Regions from separate parts of the Homo sapiens genome. Here all the other regions are linked to region 3. The links are contacts of gene promoters, found by promoter capture Hi-C in blood cells and fetal thymus (Javierre and others, 2016). All regions are on one chromosome and are shown on one strand. The core of a region is centred on a gene start or on the middle of the fragment in contact, and the rest is flanking DNA. Distances in the headings are between cores, read along the strand shown.

Region 1 (5,079 bases), core at 767-3,266, 360 kb before region 3:
GGAGTCTTTGACATTTTCAATGTGTAAGGTCATGTCATCTGCAAACAGAGATAATTTTGCTTTTTCCTTTTCAATTTGGATGACTTTTATTTCTTTTTTGCCTGATTGTTATATCGAGGACTTCCAGTACTCTGTTGAATAGAAGTGGTGGAGAATGGGGCAATCATGCCTTATTTCTCATAGGAAAATCTTTCAGTTTTTCACCATTGAGTATGATATCAGCTGTGAGATATATGTATGTATGTGTGTATATGTATATATATATACACACATATATATTTAATACATGACCTTTTTAATGTTGAGGTAAAGTCCTTCTCTACCTACTTTGTTGAGGGATTTTCATGTAAAAGGATTTTGAATTTTGTCAAAAGCTAGAAAGCCTGGTGTTCAAATCCAAATATTTGCTCCCAATCTAAAATGTTTCAGAACCTTCTTTTCTTTCCAAAGCTCTCTTGTTTATACTTTTACTTTTTTTTCCAATTATGCTTATGTCACAGAAGGACATTGTTACTCCCATTTTTCTTGTCTATAAACACTCTTTGAACAAAGACAGCCCTCAGGATGTGTGAGCTACTTGAATGTATTAACAATGTATTAAACTAATAGTTAACAATGTTTAACTCAGTGCATGGCAAAAAAGTAGTGGTCAAGAGATATTTATTGAATAAATAAATAAAAACTGAATAGATGACTAGGAAGTTGGTATGGGTCAGGGGTCAAATTATTATAACAGCAGAAAAAGGAAGCAATGACTATAATCCAAATCATTAGAAAATTATTGTAACAGGACAGTGTTCTGTATAGCCTCCCCTGACTCCTGGGAATGGCAATGGCTTCAGAGATGCTGTTATTTATACCACATTAAAATATTAATTAAATATTTAAAAATAGGCATGTTTCATAACACTATAAAAGTCTACATACTAGGATTCTAGTGGGGATTCTTTTTTAACATCTGCAAGATAAATTTAGTGACACCACTAAGAATGCCTGAGGCTACAAAAAAAAGGCAGAGAAGAAATGAATCACTTGGCATAGTAATGACTAAGAAAATAAGGAAATATTTTTCTATTAGTCAAACATCAAAATGTGTAGCAAAAAAAAATCAAAAAGCTTCAAAACAACAAAACCAAAGTAACATTGCTACGGGCAGGAAAAAAATATCAACCAAGTGATACAGGTTATTTCAAAGGGATTTCAGCTCTTTTCCATGTTCAACAGCAAGGTGGCGGCAATTCAGGTTTCAATGATTTACTTTACCAACGATGATAAATGTGTTACAAATTATTATTATAAACAGTGAGGAAGAGAAGAATGAAAAAGCGGGAGACTGAAGTGAGAGGTGTTGGGAGGCACTGAGTGGAGCCTCCTGGGGAACTAAGATGCTGTGTTTGAGCAATCTGTGCTTTCTGAAAACCAAAAGTTCAATTTTTTGTATCATTCTTTTAATAAATGACATTTCTTGTAGGCATAATATATATGTTTATCAATAAGAAATCAAACTGTGTAATGCCAGCTTGAGCAAAGCAAGTTTCCGTTGCAGGGTTTCGTGTGTTGCAAACCATTTGAAATTGTAAATAAAACTTTCATGTTTTTCTTTCCTATCCAATATTTTGGGGGCATTTTGAAGGGAACTTTTTTTATTATTCAAAAAGGAAATGATTAATCTGCCTGTGTCCATTGCCAGCCAGATGGTGACATGAATTTGCAGTTTATTTAAGGATTGCCAAAAGTGGGGGAAGGGGAATCCTTCCTATTTGTGGTATACCAATAATTTGAGAATAAACGAAATTATTTACCGTGAGGTTGCATATCAGATAATGTTTCATGTATCTTCTCTGAAGTCACCACGAAAAAATGCAGCCGAAATCATATTATATGCTGACAGCTTTATGAGACTATTCAAATATTTCGTCTTGCAACTTTCTTATAGTATATATTTTATACTAACTTTTTAATAGTAATATATTAACTGTTTGTAGTAATATATATGGAGATATATATATGTGAAGAGAGATATGTATAATATAATATAATTACATAATAATATATATATATATGGAGGCAGAGCGAGAGAGAGAGAAGCAACTTAGGCAATGTAAAGGTCTGAAGCTGCTTAATTCACACAGATTTTTAGGGTATTAGGTATTTTAGGGGTATCAAAAATTCTGATTTGACATGAGATTAAAACGACTTTCAGTTTACATTTATAACGTAGTTATTTAAAAAATATGTTGGCCGGGTGCAGTGGCTCACACCTGCAATCCCAGCACTTTGGGAGGCCGAGATGGGTGGATCACTTGCGGCCAGGAGTTCGAGACCAGCCTGGCCAACATGGTGAAACCTCGTCTCTACTAAAAATACAAAAATTAGCCGGGCATGGTAGTGTGCCACCTGTAATTCCAGCTATTTGGGGGGCTGAGGCACTAGAATCGCTTGAACCTGGGAGGCAGAAGTTGCGATGAGCTGAGATCGGACCACTGCACTCCAGCCTGAGTGACTGAGCGAGACTCTGTCTCAACAACAATGACAATAACAATAACAACAAATTATGTTGACATTCTTTTTATCAGTATTTTATAAAATGAGTTTTCTTAACTATGGAAAAATTCAAACATATACAAATGTAGAGAATATAATAAACTTTCTTATCTCTGTTACTCAGCTTCAACAGTTATCATCTTGGGACCAATCTTTTTCCTTTTCCCATAAGACCTCTCAAAATTATTTTGAATTCTCTATTTGGTATAATTTCATTCATAAATATTAAGTGCTACTGAAAGTTAATCTTTTCAACAAAAAAGAGGGTGAGATAAAAGGGTAACTGAAGCAAATCCTCTGATCTCAGCCATTCAGCTATAGGACAGAGAAATGATATTACTCAGCCTGAAATTGTGCCCTGAAGAAGCTTCATAAGTATTACATGTTTTTTACCTTTTAACTGTTTTTAAAATTGACAACAAAACTCAACAGTAATGAAACTCAAAGTACTGTGAATCTGTGAAGATGAATTATACACTTCCTAGCAGTTTAAGGCGATTTCTGATGTGGCCAGGAGTCATTTAGGTATACCGACTTTTTCAGTTCAGTTTATTCCTTTGGCCTTGGGATCTAACACAAACCAGTTCAATGCAAGCCAGAACCCAGAATGAACCTAGAAATCCTGAGTGACATCCATTGCGTGCTTTCAGTGACAGCAAGAAAATAATATAGTCACTTTAGTCGTTTTATAGGATTGCATACTTTCACTTTATATTCAATAAGTCATTAAAACTCGTTCACTGTTTATTCAGTCATTCATCCATGTATATGTATCTACTTGTGTATCTATTAATTTAATGAACATTTATGTAATACTCTGAGCGATGTGGTAAGGCTACAAAGGTGAAATACAAATCTATGGCCTCTTATACAATGGAAGATTATTCAGTGATTTTTAAAAAATGAGCTATCAAACAAACAAGGGACATGAAGAAAACGTAAACGCTGATACGGTAACAAGTCAATCTGAACATGCTACATACTGTATGATTCCAACTATATGGCTTTCTGGAAAAGGCAGGTGGAGACAGTAAAAAAGATCAGCAGTTTCCAAGGTTTGGGAGAAGGGAAGAATAAATAGGTGGAACACAGGATTTTTAGGGCAGTGAAACTATTCTGTATGATACTGTAATGGTGGTTCCATGTCATTAACATTTGCCTAGACCCACAGAATATACAATACAAAGAGTGAACCTTAATGTAAACTATGGACTTCAGTCAAGAATAACGTATCACTGTTGGCTCATTAACTGTAGCAACTGTACATCACTAATGCAAGCTGTTAATAATAAGGGAAATGGGAAGGGGTATATGAGAATGCTCTGTACTTGGAGCTCAATTTTTCTGTAAAGTGAAAACTGCTCAAGAAATAAAGTCTATTAATTTAAAAACAATGTGGGACATCTGCCCTGCAGAATTTTAAGATATAGTTAGGAGTGAATGTATAAATAGCTACCTACATTAGTTTCCTAGGGTTGCCATAACAACTTCCCACAAACTCGGTGGATTTAAGTAATGGAAGGTTAACCTTTCACGGTTTGGAGGCCAGCAGTCTGAAGTCAAGGTGTCTACAGGGCTTACTCTTCCCAAAGGCTCTAATGGGGCAATCCTGCCTTGCCTCTTCCATGTGGCTCCAGAGTTTCTTGGGTTTTGGTCAATCCAATCTCTCCCTCCATCTTTACATGGTCTCCTGTTTTCCCTGTGTGGCTCTGCTCTGTGTGTCTCTTATTGGTTCACTTGTATTGGATTTAAAGCCCACACATATAATCCAGGATGATCTCATCCTCAGATTCTTAATTATATCTGCGAAGAGTGTTTTGCCTAGTAAGGTCACATTCAGAGGTTCAGGGATTATGATGAGATGTACCTTTTAGGGAGGCCACCATTCAACCCACTGCACCATCCATAATATGATTTGCACTTTATTAATAGATTAGGAATGCAGTGCTCTGTGAGGAAATTGAGGATGCCTCATAGGGAAGGTGACATGAGAAGATTAAAGGTTGAGTGGAGTTTTTTAGACTAGAGCAGGAGTGTTGTGGTGTGAGAGGTAATGGAATTCCATCTCTTGGGAGATATTCCATGCAAAGATAGACAAATAACAAGGAGACATGATTAGGGAATGGTAAGAAAGTCAGTGCGGCTAAAAGAAAGTCGATAAAGGCTAAAGGAAATAATAACATATGAGTCTGAGATGTCAGACTGAGGCTGGGTTATAAACGAGCTGACAATCATAAGAAAAAAGCATTTGTTTTTCATCTTATTCAAGAATTTATTAAAGACAAAATCAGATTCCTACTTTAGTTGGCAGCGGAATCAGGACTTTAGGTAAGCAAAGACTAATGGCAGGGAGATGAACAGGCTAGAATCAATGAAATCCTACTATGAGGCCTCACGAGTGGGGAGTGAACAGACAGATGAGAAATAAGAGATATTTTGAATTTAGAATTGCCAGCGTGTGATGAATAACTGGATTTGTCTAGCAGAGAAGGGTGACTCTGGTTTATGGCTTTAACACTTAGCTCGATGCCATTA
Region 2 (4,864 bases), core at 1,412-3,911, 490 kb before region 3:
TGTCAGTTGTTCAGCTTTTAAAAATGGCTTTGTATTAGATTTGCAATGAATGACATTGAATATTATAGTTTTGGTAAATGGCCTAATTGTTGACAGTAACATGATGTAATTTGCTTATTTCAAAAGGACATTTTTCTATGCCGTAGTACCTTCTTAAGCTTTCACCAATAATAATTCCATTTGGAGATATTTACTGAATGTCTCCTTTCAATGGGAGATAATTCTCTTTTATGGGTCACGTCGTTCCTAGTTGATGGGACAAAAGTACCCATTTCCCAAGTTACAATAGAAGGAAGGTGCAGGAGAGTGGGTGAAGAACTGGACTAGGAAGCTGAATCCTGGATTCCAGGCTTGGGTCCTTCCCTTACTATAAATGTATCTAAGTTATATAAATAGCTGAACTGATCCCCAGTCTCCAAATTTATATTTGTAACACTCCATACCTGACCTACCTCATCAAAAACAAGATAACAAACATGAAATCTCATTATACTCTTAAGATGCCATACACATTTGAGATATTACACTTATAGATCGATATTAGTGTCAAAAAACTCAAGAATGCTATCATTTAGAAATGAGATTTGAAAGGTTAATAGATATGAAAATAAAAAGGAAAAGAGAAAGGTGATTGCAAGGGCAAAAGAAGCACTTAAGATAGCAGATCGAGAAGTCCTAACCTGAAAATCTGCCTCTGGGAAGAGAAAAAGATGAGAATGCGAGAAACACCTAAGACTTTTGTTCCTATGGCCAAGAACTATGGTATATTTCTTAAACTGTTGTTGTTTAAGATTGCCAGTGAGTGGCATGTAGCCTCAGGAAGATCTATCCTAAAATGTTTTGTTGGCTGAATTTTCTGGGATGGTAATTCATCGAAAATATTTTCCCTTCTGCCTTTGAATGACATGCTTTTTCTAAGCCAAGGAGTGGTTTAGATGGAAAACCAAATCGTATGAAACATCTCAGGTTTTTGCTCATCATGGCAACTTGTTTTCTCCTGTGGGAGGTAACTCCCTCAAAGAAATAATGCCTGACAATTCAGCAACTGAATTGAGCTAAGACTTCTGAAATGAAATAATGCAATTGGCAGGGAGAAATTGCTGAAAAAAGTACAGGTTTTTCATAAGTTCTGTTAACTAAGAAAACAGAAAATCTCTTAAAAATTCACTTTTTGTGTTAAAGGGGCATTTTGACAATATGCTTTTAACTTTATGATGTTAAAGATTATGTATACCTTATCTTAAGCAATGATGTAGGCTCATTTTAGAATAAATCAGATGAAAGCCTCCTTTTCCTTTCATTTTTCTTTGCATGGAGAAAGGAAACAAGAATTATTAAAAGCAAAGGGTAGCTTTCATTTATTCTCTTATATATAAGGCTATGATTTAAAAGTAGAAACAAAACCAGAAACTCCAGACTGATAGGTCCTCAGGTTCAGTGGTATATCTTTTGAAGTGATTTTTGTTTGACAACCACCTATCCTTTTCTTAGAACTATGCCCTAGACATTTCCTTGAGTTTCAAAAGAGTGGCTAATATACCCAAAGAATAAAGTATCCTCAAGTCTTCCTTTTTTAAATTCCTACTTTTCTACTCCTCTGCTAGTGAAGTTGTTTGGAGAGGTCTCAGGGAATAGTGAATAAGCATTGACCACCTCCCTATGTTTTAGTAGCCCACAAAATTGAAAAGTTTCTAACTATATCGAACAATTAGGCTTTGCCTAATTTTTTTTTTTTGAGACGGAGTCTCGCTCTGTCTCCCAGGCTGGAAGGCTGGAGCGCAGTGGCGCGACCTCAGCCCACTGCAAGCTCCGCCTCCCGGGTTCACGCCATTCTCCTGCCTCAGCCTCCCGAGTAGCTGGGACTACAGGTGCCCGCCACCACGCCTGGCTAATTTTTTGTATTTTTAGTAGAGATGGGGTTTCACCATGTTAGCCAGGATGATCTCGATCTCCCGACCTCGTGATCCACCCACCTCGGCCTCCCAAAGTGCTGGGATTACAGGCGTGAGCCACCATGCCAGGCCAGGCTTTGCTTATTCTGTGGCCATTGAAAGATGATCACTTGCTGTGATGAATTAAAAATTTTTAAGTAGGTTAAAGATTTTGTTTTTTTTTTTTTGTTTTCTGTATTTCTGAGGTAGCTGCCTAATGTAATGAGAATAAACCTCAGAAGAAGAATATTTATTTGAGTTGTGAAATAATGTTCTCTTGGTCAAACAATGACAAAACTTTTTTAAAGACAAAAATGAAGAATGTTAATATATGAGTCTGGGTTGTAAAGTATAACAAGCTTAGATGATTTCTGCATGGATAGGTTTTTATATGTGAAAAGTTGTAATTGCAGATTGAGAAGTCAAGGGTTTCAGGAACACACTTAAAATCATGAAATAAGACATAGACTTTACCTTGATTCTTATGGTCACCTCAGTAAAGGAAAGTGTTCACAGCAAGGATAAGGTAAGTGGGCTTGTTGGTTTCCTGAGAAGATAGTTATACTGGAAACACTTCTAGTTATTCACTTAATTTTAAAAGCACTTATATAGAAACAGAGAAAGCACATGAATTTGGCAGGAAAAACAGAAGAGTAAAGCAAGAAATGAGAACAAAGAAAGAGGTGTGGAAAAGAAGTCCTTGGGAGAAGCAATCCAAGTGAGATGCAAGTGTACTTTTACCATTTGTTTTACCATTTGTGCTCTCTAAAATTTTAATGATTAGTCTTCAGTTCTGTTTATCAGATCAGTGTGTAATTCTATGGATTTGAGAATTACACACTGATGTGATAAACAGAACTGAAATATAGCAAGTATATTTAAAATATAGCAAGTATAATATAGCAAGCATATTTAAAAATACTGGCTAATGCCCTCACTTCCTTCAAGTGTTTGTTCGAATGTCACCTTATCAAAGAATATATAGATAACTCAGATTCTCTGACCTGCCCTCCTTCTCCAATCCCTGCACTTGGGAAGCTCCCTTCCCCTACTCCACCTGTTCATCTTTTCATTGTACTTACTATGTTCCCATAAGCTTTGTAATTTACTTGTTATTTTCTTTGTTCCTGTCTGCTCCCTGCCACCCATCCTGCCCCCCAACCCTTTTTGGACAGAAACTCCTTGAAGTCAAGCCCCTTAGACCTTGATTAATTCCACAAATCTAGAGCAGTGTCTGGCATATCATAGGTGCCCTTTTTTTTTTTTTTAACAAATGCATTTTCTTTACAATTAATAATCTGTTGTGATATTTTCAGGATTTTAAAAATCATTCATCTTATATTTTATATGCATGTGTAATCCTTGCATGTTGAGCTAAGATTTTTATGGCTTGTGTATTCCCATTTTATCTCTTGAGGTAAAATTATATATGGTTAAAAAGGATTTGTTGTTGCTTGACCTGATGTTTGCCTCCTGAAAAATCTCTCTAACATAGTTTAGCAAGATGCTAACAAGTCCCAATGAAATACATCTGCTCTACTGTTGTCTCCATCTTCAAACTTTTAAAACTGTCGTAGATTACTGGAAACACAACTGCATTTGAAATTAATTCAATAAAACAGTAGTTGCAGGGTTTAAAACAAAATTGTCAGCCAAAGAAAATGGCTTGTAAATGTCTAGCCATCACTCCAGTGTTGCAGAAGTAAGTTTTCTGGCAATGAGGGAAGTGGGGCTCCCTGCTTGCTGACACATAAATGACTAAACTGGAGAGATTTCTTAGTCTGTCTGCTAAGCAGTGGTGTGGATGTGTAACTGGATGCTGGTATTGCGGTGCAGTTGTAGGTGAAAATCCTGAACGTGATGAAAGACAATCTTTGGTAATAGAATTGCAGGAAAGCAAGGGTTTGAATCAACCAGGTACAGTCTTGCTGCTTTCTCTTTCTCATTTGTATAAGATTTTTTCTATAATCTAGAAAGCATAAGGGCAATGACTTCCAATTTAATTGATGGCTCAGTCTGACATAATTGATTCCACATGGTGGGTGACAAATGACTCTTGGGTTAACCCCTCTTCCTATTCAAGAAATAGATAAATCTACTAGGATTTTCTCTTTTCTCACAAAACTATCACTTGGGCATCAATCTATCTATCTTTGATGAAATTTTAAGTATTTCATAAACTGGTGAAACCTCTTATTTTTGGTTTTTGGGGGAAGGTGGAAAATAATAGAATTTTCTTACATTCTGTCATTGAGTTGATGGATGGCTGAAGGAAAAGCAGCATCCTAGGTTTTTCAGAGACATGTCTATGCTGAAGTCAGATTATATGGTGACTTGCAGTGTAACTATACTAGTATCTCTTTACATCTGTACACAAGAAAAATTTCTGTTAAATAACAATATCAGTTTGGAATTGCTCAAGGGACTTAATAGAACAGCTTGGAATATGGCCATGGTAATACACATTCAGAAGGTCAAAATTTCTCAGCTAGAGAATGGTTCAGTATGCTCATTCATCACTTTCTACTTTTGCTTATATGAAACAAAAACATACAGCTACATGCAAGTTGAACTGTAGCATCCGCACAATCAGACTTAAAAACAAAGTACTAGATCCCAACCTACTGCTGTGAATTCGCAGGATTCATCCTGATATAATCTTTATGATACAGATGTTTATTTTCAAAACTCACGCAAAGAAATTAGCTGAATGACAAACAGTGCTGATATCTTTTATGTATATAACAAATTTCATCCAAAAATTGCAGTGCACTATATAATTAGCCAGTTAATAATTTTATATAAAATCCTGAGTAAAATATTCTCAACTTCTCAAGAATCAGATGACTGAGAGAAGACAAAGTTCAATTTTTCCTCAATCTATTGGATAGGGTAGATGAGAAAGATGGCTTTTGCAGCATTCCTGGAAAGTT
Region 3 (5,042 bases), core at 394-2,893:
TTGGCCAGGCTGATCTCAAACACCTGACCTCAGGTGATCAGCCCGTCTCGGCCTCCCAAAGTACTGGCTGGGATTACAGGTGTGAGCCACCACGCCCAGACACCTTTATTAAAAATTAATGTCCATATGTACTTATTGGTAATGGGAATGGTCTGAAAGGACAGTCAATTCTGCTATAACATGTGCTTTGAGATTAAATTTGTTCCAATGTGATTAATATACCAGAAAATAATTTGAGCATACTGCCTATGCTCATGTGTGATTTTATTTTCAGTGAAAAAGAGTAGTTGAACTTTAAAAAACTGAACTGAAAAACAGAAAGGCTTAGGATGCACAAAATACACCCACCACTTATAGTAACACCCTCACTTCACCTGTGTGTTGTGAGCCTTGACACCCATATGTCATATTGCAACTTTCTGTCTGATTTCAGATAACCCACATTTCAACAAGCTAAAGTAACTTGCAGTTTGCAAATCTTCCAATGCCTAATTTCCAAAACAAGTTTCAGGTCTTTTTCAAGGTAAAGCATCATATTTATTTTAGTATTTATGTATATCTTAACCATGTAACGTGTGAAAGTGTGCTACCATTTTTATTAGGCTCTCATCCTTTTTTTCTTGTTCCTTGTGGGTCATTATGAAGTTTTTGAGTATTTTACCCTAATCACATTTTTTCTCACAAGTCCCGTGGTTTTTATTGCACAATTTTGTACAGTATAGTGATTTTTAGGAATGGATATATCACATTATAGCAAAACTGACCATACATGTACCAAAATGTTAATAGCGTTTTGGGCAGCTTATTATTGCTTATCTATAGTTTCTATATTTTTCTAAAACAATCGTGCATTGATACTTTAATTAGATCTATGTAAACATCTTTAAATGATGAAATGGCAGCTAAAGGATGATTACAGCTGTTTTGGGTAAAGAGCTGAGGCTATTCTGGCAAGCTCCACATATTCACTGGTAATGTAATAAATTAAGTGCCTTCTAATCTACTTAAAAGGTACAATCACTTAAGCTCTTTCTGTAAAACAGAAACAGGTCTCACAGCAACATCTTGGCACCTTCTTTAATCAGAAAGTTCCCATAAGTACTAAGAAGAATAGAGAAGATGTGACTAGCCAATTTTCCATTAAATAATGTAGATTATGTAATAAGCCAAATGCCCCTAAACTGGTTGCAAACATTCAGAAGTGGTAATAACATGATTCAGATACAGAAATATAGATAGGCAATAAGGAGCCAGATATTCAGTGCTTACTGACTTTCAAGCTATTATTAAGTAGCTCGCCTATACACAGTCTCTGTAGGAAATAAAGAAACTACAAGCTTGAACACATTGTAAATTTCTAAATGAGGAGAAAAAAAGGTTTTTCTATGTGACTTGATGCTTGAATTTCTATCCAGTTTTTCAGAGTGAACATATACCTGCGTTATCACTTTTTTCTTTCCGAGACACTATTATGATGTTTTTTCTCTTCTTTTTTAAGTAGTAACTTGCTCCACCTACAGTCAAACTGCACTGTATGACTTTGATTTGGGTATGAGTCCTCTTTTCCCTCCCCCACATGCCCTGTTTCTGGCCCAGCGCCCACTGAACTCTGTACTTGTTCTTGATCCTTGTATTTTCCTGTCTCTCTACACAGAATCGGCTGTTGAGTGTGCTCTCAGTGGAGCTTTGGTTTTAGCTGTTCTCTGACAAAGAGCTTGTTCTGAGCTGCACATCTCGTCCTCTTTGTTCAGCCTCAGGCTTCAAGCATTGAATCCTAAATATTCTCCAGCTGGGAATCAGACAAGGGCAGAAATGAAGAACCCAGAAGCCCAGCAGGATGTTTCAGTTTCCCAGGGATTTCGCATGTTGTTTTACACGATGAAACCCAGTGAAACTTCATTCCAAACATTAGAAGAGGTGCCTGATTATGTAAAAAAGGTGAGACTTTATTGGAAGAGGCTACTCTTATTCTTGCTGCTTTCTTAATAAATGGTAAGGTCAATCTCCTTAGGGTTTTGTTCACTTTCATTATTCAAATGATTACATTCTAATAATAATAATTCAGTTTCTTAAAGGCGTGAAGCAAAAGTAGAATTTCCACTTGAATTTTCTTACAATCCATAGCCATCTTCACCTGTAAATTCCCTCTTTTATATGTCACTCCAGAATATGACAAAAACAAAAGTTTAAAGTTTTCCTGGACTCCATGGCATTGTAAATGTAGCTATTGGAAGCTCAATGACAAATAGTTACACCACATCAGTAAACTTTGTAACAATTTCATTTTTAAATCTTTCACTTGTCCACCCCTTCCAGGGAAACTATTTCCTCTTTCATTTGGTAGAGTAGTTCAGCAGAATGAAGGATATGCAGCTTGACCAGGTCCAGCTCTGACTTCCTAAGTTTGAATTTGACCCAAGTTTTCTTTGAAACTCTGAAGTGCTCAGAGGCACATTTCACTTCTGGTTCCTGGCTATGATTGGAAGTGGAAATATCCAGAATTAGAACTTGAATACTGAAGTTCCCCACCCTATCAAAGTTATTCCTACAACACTCACTAGTTCATGGCAGAAATAGAAAAAAAATGACATCATAGAATATGTTATTGAGAGTTCAGTTTAGAAAGCTTCAAAACTCATGATTAGCTTCCAAATGAGTAAAATCCGTATCTTTTTCAAGATTAGATATTACACTTTCTTTCTGAGTTTTTAAGTTAAAAAAAGTGGCACTGATATCTTCATAAATTATTATTGTTTATACTGCAATATCAAACCAAATTCAATGCTCCATCACCAATAGTGGAGCTTTCAAAACATCTCTTATTATGTGAAACAAAAATCAAAACCAAATGAATAAAATCTGAATCATGTTTTAAGCAAACATGTAAAATTACCATATTCTCTAAAATTCTAAGCAGAAAATTGTCTCTACTCTTTGAATTTCATCATTAGAAATAGTTCTGGTAAGTCTAATATGAAAAATTAGAATTATGTGCATCTTTAAGGAAAGCCTCTTGAAGTGGGTCTAAATTATACATGTAGAGACAATAGACCTCTAATTATCTACCTTATTCTAAATGTATTTTTTAAACTAATTTGGAAGATGTTCCTCTTAATCTTATAATATTATAATTATCGTGGTTATATCTATGATTACATTTCATATTCAAATTGGATGATAGAATTTGAGCACATGTTTAGTGTATGTCTAAAATAATTAGACTTCTTTACCACTGTGTAGGAAGTAATCCTCTAAAATGAGTGTCTACCATCTCCTGCAGGGCTTCCCAAATCTGGGCCTTTCAATTCTGAAATGACTAATCAGGAAATGTAAAATAATTTCATATGGAACATAATAGCATCTCTTTTCTGCAACTTCCTTTCCAGGCAACTCCATTTTTCATTTCTTTGATGCTGCTTGAACTTGTTGTCAGCTGGATTCTCAAAGGAAAGCCACCAGGTCGCCTGGATGATGCTTTAACGTCAATCTCAGCTGGTGTTCTGTCTCGACTTCCAAGGTGAGTTAGATGGTCAACAACGCTGAGCATAAAAACTGAAATTGCCTAAGTATGAGGGGCAAAGGAACCCAATGCATGGGAGAATTAGTTTATTTACACAAATTTTCCCAAAAAATTCAGTTCATGTCATTATTTAAAATTTTGATATTTTGTTCTTCATTGATTTTTTGCACTTATTTAAAAAATCACCGCAAACATTATTTATCTTGACTCTGTTGATATCCCTTTGAAATGAGTGCTTCATTTGCCTTATTGAGGTTCCAACTCTGAGTTATGGTCTGGTTCTCTATTAAAATTGTGTTTTGTCTCTTCCAGCTTCAGAAAGAATAGCTGTCTCGGGTGTAGCCATTCCCTAGAGCAGGTCACACAAATCTCTGAATAACTACAATAGTTTGCTAATTGGTGTCTGGCTCTAGTACAACCCCGTTTGCAGCCAAGCATTTCCATAATATGAATCCAGTGGAAACCCTTCACTGGCTCTCTATTGCCTCAAGTGTAAGGTAAAAATCCCTGTCTTGAACTATAGAGAACATTGTTTCTCTGGCTTTGCTTTTGGATCGTCCACTCTCCTGTCTATTTGTCATGTTTATCCTGTCATGCTTTACTACTTGCCATTGTCCACATGCCACAGGCACTTCCCTCTGCCTGGAAAGCCATCCAGGCCAATTCAGATTCATTCATTAGGTCTAAGCATAGACATCACACTCTTCAGCAAGCTTTATCTGTTTTCCAACCTTATGTTAGGCATTCCTGCATTCCTACACTACAGTCCCATGGAATTGTGTGCTTATCCCAGATCTAGAATTATCACATGACATGATGCTTACCTGTTTTTCTCTCAGCCCTTCCTGCTAGCTTGCACACAACTTGAGAGCAAGAGGTGTATGTTCTTAATAGTTTTAGCTCCTGTGCCTGGAATGATGTCTGTTGCATGTAGTTTCCCCAAAAGCAGTAATATTCCTGTAACATTATGTTGATGATAAAATTAGATGATATTGGGACTCAATAATAGTAAGATATAAATGACCTACTATTTTTTAGAAAGAGTACATTATAATGTGTGAAGAGGAAAGACCAATAAATGGAAGTCATCTTCAACACGTGAGGGCTTACCAAAGAGGCAGAGGGTGAGGAAAGATTCCCTTAGAAGTCTGTGCTTTGAGCTGCTGATGAATGTTCTCATTCCAGCTTCCCACCCATTTCTTCTTGTCCTGTTTTAAGAGCTTTACTTCTGACTGGTGCTCATTGCTTTGGAATGTTTCTATTAACCGCCCAGTGGGAAGCTAAGGTGGATTTTTAAAAAATAACATTAAAACTTTAAATATCTAAAAAAGGTGGAATAATTTCATATATTACATAAAATAGTTTAAATAAAAGTAAACTTAAAAGTAAAATTTTTTCAATAAGTGTTTGAGAAAAGTGCATTATTAGGTATATAGTAGAAGTAATATTAATAATATTTACTCTGAAAAACTACTTGTAATTGTTGCATTTTGCAGTTGAAATCAGAAGAAGATAATGTCTC

The links. Contacts are between HindIII fragments. The CHiCAGO score rates a contact against its expected background, and 5 or more counts as called.
Region 1: a contact is called between a fragment that was not itself captured here and the fragment with the promoter of AGMO in region 3, in 1 of 17 cell types (endothelial precursors). The highest score is 5.4, in endothelial precursors.
Region 2: a contact is called between a fragment that was not itself captured here and the fragment with the promoter of AGMO in region 3, in 1 of 17 cell types (endothelial precursors). The highest score is 5.2, in endothelial precursors.

The regions. Positions count from the first base shown.
Region 1 is chr7:15,917,791-15,922,869 of GRCh38, reverse strand. No RefSeq gene overlaps it. Among named protein-coding and RNA genes, the nearest start is that of LINC02587, 230 kb to the right of the region's middle. The HindIII fragment of the contact is 1,795 bases long and covers 1,119-2,913 here.
Region 2 is chr7:16,045,074-16,049,937 of GRCh38, reverse strand. No RefSeq gene overlaps it. Among named protein-coding and RNA genes, the nearest start is that of CRPPA-AS1, 160 kb to the left of the region's middle. The HindIII fragment of the contact is 737 bases long and covers 2,293-3,029 here.
Region 3 is chr7:15,558,616-15,563,657 of GRCh38, reverse strand. AGMO (alkylglycerol monooxygenase) reads left to right here and starts at 1,643. Exons shown (of 13, transcript NM_001004320.2): 1 at 1,643-1,938; 2 at 3,387-3,517. The coding sequence starts at 1,813. LOC124901591 (a long non-coding RNA gene) reads right to left here and starts at 4,801. Exons shown (of 3, transcript XR_007060217.1): 1 at 4,631-4,801; 2 at 4,345-4,477; 3 at 3,458-3,562. The HindIII fragment of the contact is 1,289 bases long and covers 1,340-2,628 here.